2 separate regions of the Homo sapiens genome follow, and region 1 is linked to region 2. Evidence: promoter capture Hi-C in human tissues and cell types (Jung and others, 2019). All regions are on one chromosome and are shown on one strand. Each heading gives the region's core, a stretch centred on a gene start or on the middle of the fragment in contact. The rest is flanking DNA. Distances are from core to core; before and after follow the strand shown.

What was found. Contacts are between HindIII fragments. The study calls those that stand out against the background at their distance.
Region 1: a fragment that was not itself captured here is called in contact with the fragment with the promoter of SERPINB8 in region 2 in 1 of the 25 tissues and cell types used here (hippocampus).

What each region holds. Positions count from the first base shown.
Region 1 is chr18:62,856,512-62,864,076 of GRCh38, reverse strand. It overlaps PHLPP1 (PH domain and leucine rich repeat protein phosphatase 1), which reads right to left. Exons shown (of 17, transcript NM_194449.4): 4 at 3,476-3,642. Among named protein-coding and RNA genes, the nearest start is that of PHLPP1, 140 kb to the right of the region's middle. The HindIII fragment of the contact is 5,182 bases long and covers 3,283-7,565 here.
Region 2 is chr18:63,964,678-63,971,516 of GRCh38, reverse strand. It overlaps SERPINB8 (serpin family B member 8), which reads right to left and starts at 1,436. Exons shown (of 7, transcript NM_002640.4): 1 at 1,347-1,436. It overlaps LOC105372165 (a long non-coding RNA gene), which reads left to right and starts at 1,013. Exons shown (of 3, transcript XR_935576.3): 1 at 1,013-2,194; 2 at 3,244-3,530; 3 at 4,649-5,152. It also overlaps a transcript of HMSD not described here. RefSeq lists silencers at 735-954, 1,025-1,084, 1,095-1,294 and enhancers at 768-1,062, 1,355-1,524, 1,555-1,604. The HindIII fragment of the contact is 6,523 bases long and covers 1-5,539 here.

The DNA.
Region 1 (7,565 bases), core at 4,624-7,123, 1.1 Mb after region 2:
GCACTCCAGTCTGGGCAACAGGAGCGAGACTCTGTCTCAAAAAAATAAATTAATTAAAATAAATAAACAAATAAATTTTTAAAAATTAAAAAAATAAAAGGGAAGGGGGAAATATGTCAGAGGCATTCGAACCTGAGTGACTCCATCTTGAATAGGGGCTGGGTAAAATAAGGTTTACCCCTACTGGGCTGCATTCCCAGGAGGTTAGGCATTCTTACTCACAGGATGAAATAGGAGGTCAGCACAAGATACAGGTCACAAAGATCTTGCTGATAAAACAGGATGCGGTAAAGAAGCTGGCCAAAAGCCACCAAAACCAAAATGGTGATGAAAAGTTGACCTCTGGCTGTCTCACGGCTCATTGTATGCTGATTATAATGCATTAGCATGCTAAGAGACACTCCCACCAGCACCATGAGTTTACAAATCCCATGGCAATATCAGAAAGTTACTCTATATGGTCTAAAAAGGGGAGGGACCCTTAGTTCTGGGACTTGGCTACCCCTTTCCCAGAACACTCATAAATAATCTACCCCACTGATTATATTTAGCATATAATCAAGAAATAACCATAGGCTGGGCCTGGTGGCTCATGCCTGTAATCCCAGCACTTTGGGAGGCCGAGGTGGGTGGATCACTTGAGTCCAAGAGTTCAAGACCAGCCTGGCAACATGGTGAAACCCCATCTCTACTAAAAATATAAATTCTAGCTGTGCGTGGTGGTGGTGCATGCCTGTAATCCCAGCTATTTGGGAGGCTGAGGCAGGAGGATCACTTGAGCACGGGAGGCGAAGGTTGCTGTGAGCCACCACTGCACTCCAGCCTGGGTGACAGCAAAACAGTGTCTAAAAAAAGAAAGAAAGAAAAGAAGAAAGAAAAGAAGAGAGAGAGAAAAGAGAGAGAGAGAGAGAGAACCATAAAAGTAGCCAACCAGCAGCCCTTAGGGCTGCTTTGCCTATGGAGTAAGCCATTCTTTATTCCTTTACTTTCTTAATAAACTTGCTTTCAATTAAAAAAAAAAAAAAAAGAATACCACAGTGATAACTTTCATAGTACACGTCAGCTACAGGGGACAATCAGGAATTGCTGGAGCAAAATATCCTTATTAGAGTCTCGATTGCCTACGTAATTAATTCACTGCAGCACCAAACTGTCCCAGTTGTCATTATATTCTTCTCTATTCTTTTCTTCCGGGCAATATTAACAGTAAAAATATTCTTTAAAAAAATTGTAATGCCAGTTTTACTTAAGAATGTCCTTGATGACACACGAAAGTTATTTCTTATTACATCTCAACCCCTGAGTATATGTCTTTTTAATTTTCTGGGTGATAAAATAGGAAGTACACAAAAAACACTTCTGGTGCACACTGAAGTATGATAGTCATCTCAAGGAAAACACTTATCTGATTATGTGAGCTGTGGGCCAAACCAGTCGCTATTTATAGAGAACCCCATTTTTACTTGAAAGAGCAACTGACAAACTATTATTATTCATACTTGGGTATTTGGCAGACATTTTCTCAAAAATGAAGTGAGAAGTCTGCTTACCAGAAAACAACTGATGGCATGTGCTGCCAATAATGGCCTTCAAATTTCTAATGAAAAATTAAAATTTTGGAAAACTCGTTTCCACAGTAAGCTTAACAACATCCCAATACTTAAAAGACTTTACTGATAAGATCAGTGGTGATATTGGCTGGGCGCAGTGGTTCACACCTGTAATCCCAGCACTTTGGGAGGTCAAGGTGGGCGGATCACTTCAGGTCAGGAGTTCGAGACCAGACTGGCCAACATGGTGAAACCCCATCTCTACTAAAAATACAAAAAAATTAGCCAGGTGTTGGGGGAGCGCCTGTAATCCCAGCTACTTCAGAGGCTGAGGCGGGAGAATCACTAGAACGCGGGAGGCAGTGGTTGCAGTGAGCCGAGATTGTGCCACCACACTCTAGCCTGGGCGACAGAGTGAGACTCCATCTCAAAAAAAGAAAAAAAAAAAGATCAGTGGTGATATTAACAAATGTGAATTCTTAAAATTCCATAATAAAATACATTAACATTTGGAGTATCTGTGTTACACAACGGAGTAGTACTCTCCAAATGACCAACACTTAATGCAATAAAGTGATGCATGGGTAAAGAGTCAAATCAAACTGCAAGTCAGATCAATGGATCTTACCGTTAAAGAATTCAAAAAGCTCACGAATAGGGTTTTAGATTCCATTTTAGAACTAACATTTAAGAAATGACCACTTGTCAAGTTTTGGTATAGTATCAAGGAAGGATATTCACAATTACCTGAAAAGACAATTAAAATACTCTTCCATTTTCCAATTACATCCACAAACTTTATAAGCAACTATTGGATTATTTTTTCTGGATGTTAAAAACCATAAACAGAATCACAATGGTTATCACATTTTAATTCCTGATCATATCAGTCATGTAAAAACAAATGAACTAGCAATTATTTATTTAAAAGTTATATTCTTTGCAGTTACATAGTCTTACATATTTGCAACAAATATATAAGTATCAAAGGTTTAATTTACCACAGAATGAAGACTGATCACTGCTCCAAAGAGGAAAGGAAGTGAATGTGGTAAATTCTTAAATCTGTTTTGGAGACATGCAAGTCAAGTCCCTCTCTTCTAGTTTAAATGAGCAGATTCTAGGCCAGGCGTGGTGTCTCACGCCTATAATCACAGCACTTTGGGAGGCCAAGAAGGGCAGATCACTTGAGGTTAGGAGTTCAAGACCAGCCTGGCCAACATGGTAAAACCCCATCTCTACTAAAAATACAAAAATTAAGAGGGCGTGGGCGCCTGTAATCCCAGCTACTCGGGAGGCTGAGGCAGGTGAATCACTTGGGCCCAGGAGGAGGAGGTTGCAGTGAGCCGAGATCATGCCACTGCACTCCAGCCTGAGACAGAGCAAGACTCTGTCTCAAAAAAATAAAAAATAAAGGAGCAGGTTCTATTTATTTAACATGTGACTCCTGAAACCCACACACTAATCACCCAGATGACATGATGTAAGTTGATTTAAACGCTGGTTCTTAAATTTCTAAGGAAATATCTTTTTATGGGAAAAAATGACCTTTCATAAATTTCAAAAGAAACAATTTAATCTGAACAAACACCTGAAGTTCAGAAGTAACACACCAAATGTTATTAATTTTTTGCACATGCATTTTTAGATAGGAATAAAAGTTGTTTAAGGAGAATTGTTCTTACACAACTCTATCCAGTTAATAAATATCATAAATCATTAGTTTCAAAAGCAAGAACCTTAAAAAAAATTTCAGATTGAGAATTGGTAATGTCTTCACTAATAAACAAAGTCCTATTACCCTGTTATCTGAAGGAGAAAGTTTACACACTAGCTTTTTTCATGAGAATATTCAAGAGATAACAAGCAGAAGTTCATTCTGCCCCCACCCCTTCCTAATGATCTACCCATTTCTGCAGGCTTACCTTTGCAGTTCATTAAGCCCCCTGGCAGCTGGAAGGCTAGGGTTCTGCCTTAGGAAGTTTTGTTTTAAATTGAGATGAGTGAGGTCTTGGCTGTAGAAGAGGTTGGCAGGCAGATGTTCCAGGCTACAACACGAGAGGTCCACTGAGCTAATGCGCTGGGATGCAACCTAAAGGGGGATAAAACTTAATTTTAATACCATCCACTTATCCTATAACTACTTTCTATGGATAGAAATAAGATAATCCCAATTTGGAACAGATATTCTATGAAAGTAGCACTGTTAGTCCAAATATAAACCAACAGAGTATTCAGTCATGTGCCGCATACCAACCTTTCAGTCAATAACGTACCACACACAGCAGTCCCACAAGATTATAAAGAAGCTGAAAAAGTCCTATCACCTAGTGATATGGCAGCTATCATAATGTCATAGCACAACACACTGCCTTCTATGTTTAGATACACAAATATTTACCATTTTGTTACAACTGCCCACAGTATTCGGTACAGTAACATGCTACACAGGTTTGTAACCTAGGAGCAATAGCCTAGGTGTGTAGTTGGCTAACACCATCTAGGTTTGTGTAAGTACACACTGATGTTTGCACCATGAAGAAACTGCCTAACAACACATTTCTCAAGATACATCCCTGTCATTAAGTGATGCATGTCTGTACTTAGTATTTGAGCCAAGTACTTTATAAAAGCAGGAAAATGTCCCTGCCTGGAGGGTATGTACAGTAACCTAGCATAGGAGACAGGCTGGAAAGAACATAGATTATTCCATCAGGTTTAGTGATATCAGTAATCTCCTCCAATGCAGGAGTTTTATTCCTGAAAACATAAGGAATAATTCTCTCCGACAGAAAGAGAATTCAGAGCTATCGAGTAAATACACGGTCAAGAGACAGATACTAAGATCTAAACTGAACATATAAAAGCCATTGTATATACTGATTTAAAATAGCACAAATAAAGAAAAAGAACAAGACCTTTACACTGACCTTGTACACATCTTCAATTAATGGTACAGTAGAATCAGATTCCATTGCCTGTCTGCTACAAACTTTTCAGGCTGCCTCTCCCAGTTTCAGTGAAATGCTTACAAATTCATTGTGCTTTGCTTCATGTAAGTATTTTATGTAAAACTTATTTTATGTCTAAATATTTATCCAGATGTTCAATGCCTTCCTGGTTAAATGACTCCTCCCACAGCCAGGATCTCAGGGCTAAAGACCAACTTTTATGTGGGAAGCAGAAAACGCACTGACCACCCTGTATTTCTCAAATGCTCTTCCCAATATTGTAGGTAACACAGTGCCAATTTATGCTAAAGCACATGGCTTCAGCCCCACCTCCACACATCTTGGTTTTCTCTCCTCACAGAGGCAATGGGAGTACAGTTCTAAAACTTTGGTTAATTCTCCCTATTTATCTTTACCAAAGCTTTAGGGCAGAAACTTCACTGCTTCTCTGTGATCAGTCTGATCTCTTTTTCTTTTACCAAACCCCAGGTTTCTGTTCCTAATTACACAAGGCAGTAGAACGTAGTCCTTAGGTGTATGGTTCTGAGTTCAGTGTCCAGATTCATAGCCCAGCACCACCACTCAGGAGCTGAGATAACTTGAATAGATCACTGATCTAAGATCCAGTTTTCTCATCTGTATAACACGTATAAAGATGGTACCTACTTCTACATGCCTGGCACAGAAAAAGCACTCAATAAATGTTAACTGCTATTACTATTACTAGTACTACTACTAACACTACCATTTCCAAATCAAATCATTCACATTTTATTTTTTATTAAAAAAAATATTTTTAGATAATAAAGTAGGGGCAAGGTCTTGCCATGTTGCCCAGGATGGTCTCAAACTACTAGGCTAGGTTGATCCTCTCACGTCAGCCTCCCAAAGCGCTGGATTACAGGCATGAGCCACCATACCCAGCTTCATTCACATTTTATATCCACTAAAATTCATACTCTCCTGATGCTAAAAGTATCCAGAAGTAAATCTGCCTAAGATATGTTCTGCTAGATCAGGTATGGTGGCTCACATCTGTAATCCCAGCACTTTGGGAGGCCAAGGCAGGTGGATCATTTGAGGTCAGAAGTTCCAGACCAGCCTGGCCAATATGGTGAAACCCCGACTCTACTAAAAATACAAAAATTAGCTGGGCGTAGTGGTGGGTGCCTGTAATCCCGGCTACTCGGGAGGCTGAGGCAGCAGAATTGCTTGAACCCACGAGGCAGAGGTTGCAGTGAGCTGAGATCGTGCCATTGCAGTCCAGCCTGGGCAACAGAGAGAGGCTGTGTCTCAAAAAAAAAAAAAAAAAAGGTTCTGCTGATGGAATATTTGAGCTTAGGAGAAACTACTGTGCACACATGAAAGCTAAAGGTATACTGGGGTGAGAAAGGCTGGGCAGGACTTATCTCTAAAGACTTTACTGAGAAAGTCTGAGTTTGCATTTTACCAATTTTATCTTTCTGTGAATTTTCACCATTAAATAAGAAAAAGAAACTTCCAAACAGGGCCAAACCACTCATATAAAGAAAGATGTAAAAAGAGATAGAATGTTAATGGGCCTGAAAGTAGGTGCAAAAGCACCACGCTACACAGGATTCCTACGGCATTCATAGGAAGTGGATGGGAACCTGTTTATAGAAAGTGAGTTTGAAACCTCTGCTAGCTAGTGGAATCATTCATTCAAAAATATGTGTTGAGAATCTACTTAATGGTGTGTGGCAGGCCTTTTATTTCCTGAGACACAAAAGGAAAACAAGACAGACACAGTCTCTGCCCTGAATGAGTACACATCAAGAGGAGAGGGTAATTAAGATACTACATGATAACTGTTACAAGAATAGGAAGTGCAAGGACACAGAACAGAATCCCAGGGGTCAGAAAAGGATTCCCAGAGGATGTAATATCCAAGCCCAAACTTGAAGCCTCAGTAGAAATCTGTGTTTTTTGCCCCAAATCCTTTCTCCTTCAAACTCATGATCCTAAGGGGAACTGCAAACAAAGTACCCAGATGCTCTGGATTCGTGGGTAAGCATGCACTCCAGGTCTGAGCAATCTGAGTGTCCTATCTGCTGAAGCCACAGACTGATCCAACAGGTGCTAGCATGGGACCCAAGCTAGGTTAATCAGAGGACTTCTCTGGGATTTACATATTCTGAAACCAGGAAAGAAAGAGAACCAGCTGCTTAGAGCTGCAGTTAAAATGAAGGAACTAGATCCATATGTATCAATCTGACTTGATACAAATGCAAACTGCAGCATGACACATTCCATTTATGAAAACAATTTTTAATACAATACACACACACCTCCATATATTAGATGGATGAATAGTTATATGTGCAATATATACCGTGAGATCATAAATTTCTATTGTTTTAAGCCACCAAGGGTTTGCTAATATGTTACAGCAGCCACAGGAAACTAATGCAACCCTTCTTTATTTTTTCCATTGTACTTTTTTTCATTTTCATTCATTCAACATGTTTACTGAATATCTACTAGAGGTGCCAATTACCGTTCTAGGTGAGCCCTTAATATACTTCAGAAAACAAAATGAAGATCCCTCCCCTATTAAGCTTTCTTTACAAATAAATAAATTATATGTTAAAAAAATTGGTAAGCACTACAGAGAAAAAAAAAACAGCTTGAGAAAGGGGGTCAAGACTGCTGGGAAGGTGGTGGATTGTAATTTAAATAGGTTGGTGAGAGTGGTGCCCACTGAAAAGACCACATTTAGAAAGGAAAAACCGGAGAAGTTGGCAGATAGGATTTATCTGGAAGAAGATGCTGCCAGGCAGAGGAAGTACCCAGAGTTAGGACCCTTAGAGAAGCATGCCTTAGCTAGGCATGGTGGCTCATGCCTGTAATCCCAGCACTTTGGGAGGCTGGGGTGGGAGGACTGTTTGAGCCCAGAAGTTCGAGATCAGCCTGGGCAACATAGTGAGACCACCAACTCTACTAATAAAAAAATTTTTTAATTAGCTGGGCGTGGTGGTGCGTGCCTATAGTTCCAGCTACTCGGGAGGCTGAGGTGGACGGACCACTTGAGCCCAGAAGGTCG
Region 2 (6,839 bases), core at 187-2,686:
ATACTCAGGGTGGGTCGTGAACCACTGGAATTTTAAATGAGGAGTCAGGCTGGAATGGGGAATATGACTTGTTCCATTTGAGATGCGTGGAACACACCATACCAGGTGAACCTGTAACAAAGACAGCCAAGGATGTTTGTAAACAGTTAGGGACGGGGATGAGTAGACTGTCTAGAGCCAGAGACCTGGAGCCATCAGCATCCCGATTCCGAGAGGTTCCATGAGAATGGATGAAACTACACAGAACATCTAGTGGAGGCACAAGGGAAGAAATCCACCTATTTCTGTGGAATTTCCAATATCTGGAGGTAGTAAAAGGAAGAGACAGAGGAGGGCGAGGGGAGAGCGCGCGCGCGAAACGGAGACTGAGACCCAGCCATCAGGGTGTGCTGGGAGAACTGGGGAGACGAGTCTGCCCCTGCGAGTGGACCCAGGGAAGAGGGCGCGGTCTACGCAGAGCCCGAGGCAGGGAAGCGGGAGGGGCCCGGAGAGCAGCCCTGGGTGAGGCCCTTTGGAATGGAGAGGTCTCAGGAGTGAAGCAGCAGCCAGAGGACTGAGAGTGTCTGGAAAGTGAGGAATTGGTTAAAGTAACGCCGGTGGCTGCAACAGAGAGGGGCGTAGGTGAAGAAGCACCCCCAACCCCATCCCATTTGAGAGGAAGCAGACAATGAAGAAGAGAATATGAAAGATACAGAAAGATGAAGGCAGGGGTGGAAAGAACGGAGGGGGGGGACAGGAAGGGAAGGAGAAGGTGCAACCAATAGGCTGTAAGCACAGGGGCAAGCTTGGGCGCCAGGGGAGCAGGGACTCGGCGCCTCCCCGATCTGCCCCAGGCGCCACGGAAATTCCAGGCCCCGCCACCCGCACTCCCGGAGCCTCCTCCGCAGCGGCGGCTCCTCCCACTCGCCCTCCCGGGGCTCCCGCCCAAGCTTCCGGCGCTTCCAAACTCACTGCTCGCGTCACCCCCCGCTCCCATCCGGCAGCAAATCACAGCGCAGCAAATCGCAAGCCTAGAAACAGACGCTCCCTCTCCAGGGGCAGCTTCCTATTCAGGGCGGGTCTGGGCGCACCTGTTCTCGGGACCCGGCCCTCGGCCTTCGCCGGGTCTCGCGGTGGGGCTTGGGACCCCGGCTGGTGCCAGGGCGACCCCCACAGCCCCGCGACTCTCTTTCCCGGCCGCCTCCCGCCGTCATTCTCCTAGTTCCTGCCCGCCTTTGCCTCGCTCTGATTCCTGCTCTGGCCTTCCTCCCTTCCCCTCTCTCACGCACTCCAGGGAAGAGGTGGCCTCCGCGGGAACCTGGGCACCTCCGTGCCTGCCCCGCCCGGTACCTGGCAGAGGCCCCCACCTCCTGCTGCTGCTGCTGCTGCCGCCGCCGCCGCCGCCGCTGCTGCTTTGACTATTCCTCCTTTGTAGATGCTTCACGTCCGCCTTGATTGAGGGCAAGGCTTCCGGCAGATGACTCAGAACCGTTCGATTGCTCTGGCTTGTGCAATCCCTGATTCTTTGGGCCTGTGTGGATGTCTGTGGGCACCGGAGAGAGGGCCAGTGCCTGGTCCTTGGAGGGTGGTTTTTATAAAAAGTGTACACATTGGCTATTGTCCTTTTTTCACCGTTGATTCACGTTTGACTCCACTGTAGTTAGACGTCCACCCAAACATTCTCTGAAATTGCTCCTGATAAGGATACTAATCATTTTCTAATTGCCTTGGCCAAAAAATACATCCCAGGTCTTATTTCATTTTGTTTGTTGGCGACATTTAGCCCTTTCTTCTTTGACCTTCCCAGGATTTCCAGAGCACCCTTCCCTTCTTTCCTGACTCCTTTGCTTGGTATCCTGATTCCTTTCCTACCATTCTAAGCCCTCTTCTTTTCATTATAATATGATCTTCTTGTATGACCTCCACTATATCCATAGGTTCATGTTTCAACTTTTAACTTATTTCTTCAAAATCTCTAACCTGTCTCGAGCCGTAGATGTTACCTGTGTACTACTGGACATCTCTCAGAAACCTGGGTGTGTCCCTCCGCAGTTCTTTTAACTAAATGATCAACAGTCCTGTTACTTCTATCACTTTTGTGTTCCTCCTGTCCATACTCTGTCACCTCTATCATGTCTCATGTCTCTCCTAAACAATTAATTTTCCTACCTACAGTTCTGATCCATGCCAACCTATTGCCTACTCTGAAGTTCAGGTAAACATTCCAATTCTAATTATTTTATACCTCAGTTTAAAATCCTTTATAACATCCTCTTATCCAAAAAGATAAATTAGAAACTATTGAGCAAGGAGTGTAAGCCTCTTCACGTCTTGATTTCTCCCTTCTTTTCTTTAGAGCCATAGCAAATTATTTACATTCCTTCATATCCTCTGTTCATATACATGGGGTTCCTGGCATGCAAGCTTGTCTTTCAAAATTCAGTTCAAATAATGTCTCCTGCAGGAAGCTCTCACAGAGCTCTCCAGTTTGGGAATTCTGCTTTTAAAGATGCACATTCCCACTCTGCACCCCAAACCAATTAAGTAAAGATCTCTTGGAGGAGGGAACCCAGCAGCAGTATTTTGTAAAACTCGCTCAGTGATTTCCCTGTGGAATCCTAAAAGTAACTGTTCCCAAGAACTCTCCTCAATAAGTCTTGGTGCAGGATTCACCCCCATCTTTTCTCCATGACTTTGAAACCCCTCTCTCTAGTGGCTACAGACTCACATTTGAACTGTGCCCAAACTTACCGGCTCTGCCAGTTGAAAATGCCAAGGTCACTTCCCCATTGTGCATCAATTTCTCCTTGTTGGTCAGAACTAGATCCAGACTTTGGGCCCCACTTTGTCCATCCACTCCTTTTCCTCTTTGACCAGCAAAACAGATTAAAAGATGAAAAATGCTTGTTTTCCTCCGTGAAACTTCCAGCAAATGCCTGGTGGTTTGAAGTCCTTTACAAAGGATATAATTTGGCCCCTGGGAGTTTGGTTGTAAACACAGATATCCCATGTAGGAAACACAGTGCGTGCAGGTGCAAAGAGGCACAAGATAGCACCATGAAAACCATGACGTATCCAGGCCTGCAGTGGTACAGATAGTGTGGATGAGGCACTGCAAGACAACGTCTGATGTGTCCACAGGGCCATGTCGTGAAGGCCATGTGGACGCTGTTGGTGGTGTTTCTTCGTTCCCTTGTGGACTATGGGGAAACACAAAAGGATTTTAAGCTGGGGAGAAACATAATCATATTTGTATTTACGAAGGTCCCTCTGGCTGCAACATGGAGTATATTGTAGGAGGGTACCATTGCCTGCAGTGAGGCGTTAAGGACGCAGCATGGATGAGAGATGAGGAAAGCTGAAATGAAACAGAGGCAGGAGAAATGGAGAGGAGGACATGGCCTTGAGGAATTTCCAGGACATAAATTTGGCATCACTTCTTGGACCATGAGAGGAAGAGGGAGCAGGAAGAATCAAAGATGAATCCAAGAATGAACAAATCTAATTTTTGAAATAATGCAATGAAAAGTAGAACTGGTCTGTTTTCCTAGGTAAGGAATTTGTCTGCAAGTCGATATTCACGAGGATTAATTGTATTTATTTTCTGAGTATGGACAATTTAAATGCTGGGCCCTGAAGGGAAACCCATCTCTCAGAATAACTAAAGCCCAATTTCAGAGTGAGCCTGAACAGGCTCCCCACTCCACCCTGGCCCACTGGGGACACAACAGGTAACTGATAAGGTTCCAGAGTATATAATTCAGTGCCTCAGAAACTGTCCTCAGCCTCATCTTCTGTCTTCTTGCCTCATACCTAACTTCACATCTCTTCAGTCAGTACTAGGGAGTATCTGCTGGTTCTCAACTCCCGACTCAACCTTGACCTAGTTTTGTCTGACTCCCTCGGCTCCTGACTTTGTGGACCTCAGGAAGGGCACACTCCTAGGCTAGTCTCAGGTTGAGCTACCACCGTCTCCAAATTAGACTTCCACTTGTCAAGAAGGAAGTAGAGTCCAGGCATAATTGGAGCTTCCTGGGGTGATTCGAGGTCTCTGTACTCCTTGCTGTAAAATGCACAAATACTCCACCTTAAAGAATCTCACGGGGCAGGGCACAGTGGCTCATGCCTGTAATCCCAGCACTTTTGGAGGCCGAGGCGGGCGGATCACCTGAGGTCAGGAGTTCCAGACCAGCCTGGCCAACGTGGTGAAACCCCGTCTCTGCTAAAAATACAAAAATGAGCCAGGCGTGGTGGCAGGTGCCTGTAACCCCAGCTACTAGGGGGCACTGAAGCAGGAGAACTGCTTGAACCTCGGGAGGTTGCAGTGAGTTGAGATTGTGCCACTGCACTCCAGCCTGGGCAACAGAGCGAGACTGTCTCAAACAAACAAACAAAAAACAAAGAGTCTCACCGGAGTTCCAAAATATCCTTCAGTGACTGACCATATACTCTAGCAAAAGTTACTTCATATATGCCCGGCCACAGCTCTCAATCTCCCATGAGATTCCCAGCAATCTTCCCTGGTTTTGAGAAAGTGTAAAAAAACACAAAAAGCAAAAACAAAACACACTTGCTTCAGCTAATTAATGCTAGAGAAACAAACATAGCATCATAAAATGTAAGCATTTGAAAGAACCATATTGTTGACGCTGTTCCTTATATTTTGCAGGAGAGGATGGTGAAATAGAGGTAGTTTGTGTGATTTGCCCAGAGTCCCATGAAGAATTCACAGAAGAATTGAGACTACAGTCAGTATGGCCACATTCCCAGAGAACTGCTTTTTCTGCCATACCCTGTGGTAATAATATTGTCACAAGACAATTGGACAGTGTTTCACATATTCAGTGATGGAAGAAGAGTTTAATTGAAATAAATAAATGTCAGGAAAAATTAATTCGATTGTGATAACACTTAAGGAATGGAGTGTTCACTCTCTAGGAGAAGTTGGGCTAAATGATGAAATGGAGTGTCCGTGTATGTGATCTGTGGTGCTGTTTTGCTGTAGTTAATTCCTATTTTTAACTTGAAATGTGTTCTGACTGCGTTAGTGCCAATTTTTTTGAGACCGGTGTACCTATCCTATCAGGTACATTCGATTTACACAAGTACATTCTCTTTTCAGTTCTCCCACCACTTCTCTTTATTCAAACAATTAAAACCTTCTTGAATATTATTTGGTTAGTCCTTTGAGTTAATGAATCAATTTTACAGGATCTGCTTCTGTCATTTTTCATTAACATTCCCCAGACAAATTTGTACTGCTTACTAACAGCACAATCCTAAATTCAAAAGATTACTGAGTTATAAAGTGGATGTCTGGACAATCCAAAACATAATGGCTGTGGTTTGGGTGTGGATTTTTGTCTCCACGAAAACCCACACTGCGATTCAGTCCCTGCTGTGCCAGTGTTCCACTTAGGGAGAGGTGTCTGCGTCATGTGGGTGGATCCCTTGTGAAAGCCTTGGTCCTGTTCTCCTGGTAGTCAGTGAGGTACAATTAGCTCTCATGGAATGGATTAATTCCTCCAAGAGTGGGTTGTTATAAAGTAAGGTTTCTCCCCATGTTTGGTCCCTCTTCGCATGTGCCTGCATCCCCTTTGACCTTTCCCTCATTGAACCTGCAGGTTCAATGAAGGTTCACTGCAACCTCCGCCTCCTGAGGTTCAATGTCTTTTGACATAGCACAAAAGCCCTCTCCAGAAGCCTGGGGATGCCAGTGCCATACCTCTTGTATATTCTGCAGAATATGAGCCAAATAAGCCTTCTTTCTTTATAAACTACCCAGCCTCAGGTATTCCTATATAGCAACACAAAACAGACTAAGACAATGCTTATATGAAAATGTCTAGATTGTTACCAAGACAAATGTAAGCAATGAAACATACATGTTGTAGAGCCTCTGCTGATCAAGGGTATGGAGAACCCAGTGGACCTTAATGTGAAAAGCATTACATTAATATGCCTGGTATTGTATTTCAAGGAACTTATAAAAGAAAAAAAGGCTCCTGATATGGCATTGCCTGGAAACTGCCATTAGTCCCTCATTAGTGAATCGTCAGTCTCTCCATTAATTTGAAGGGGGTTAAGGGGAAGTATTAAGTGACAAAGAATTTGGAGGGAATTAGAAAGATCTCTTTGGTTTCTAAACGTATCTTTTCGTGCTTTGATTGAATGTGTTGCAGATAGGAAAGTTGAATAGGAGATCCCTGATAGCCTCTCAGATTTTAGCTTATCAATAGAGTTACCATTGATTGTTGAAACAGTGTGAGTTCCTGCCACTTGTTCTAGTGTCCTGTCTGGTTCAGCATTAATCTCAGAATTTTCAGTTTTTAATGGAGTAGTTTTTCTAATAGCTGCACACCCTCAAGCCAGAATGTGTTTGCTAGATCCACACTGTGGACTTCAGTCTCCTGCCACACTCTTTCATAATAGTGGGAGAGATGCTTATTCAGTTACATCAGGCAGTGTTCACTTTGCAAACAAACTACATCAGAGATTTGAAGAGAAGAGAATTAATACAAAGAATTATTAAGTAATAGATTTTTTAAAAATACTGTAATGGCAGCAGATGTAGAAGGTACAAAAGAGAAATTGTCACTTCATGTCTTGGGGTAAGTGGAAAAAAAAAGAACTAAGGACTTAGGAAAAGACATAGGTCATAGACTGTATTATGTCCTCACAAAATTTTTATGTAAAAGCCCTAACCCCTAAGATGATAGTTTCTGGAGATAGGGCCTTTGGGAGTTGATTGGGGTAAAATAAAGTCAGGAGGGTTGGGCCCTCTTGAAGAAATTAGTGGCATTAAAAGAAGAAGAGATAAATTGCTCTCCCTGCCATGTGAACATAGCTAAAAGGTGGCC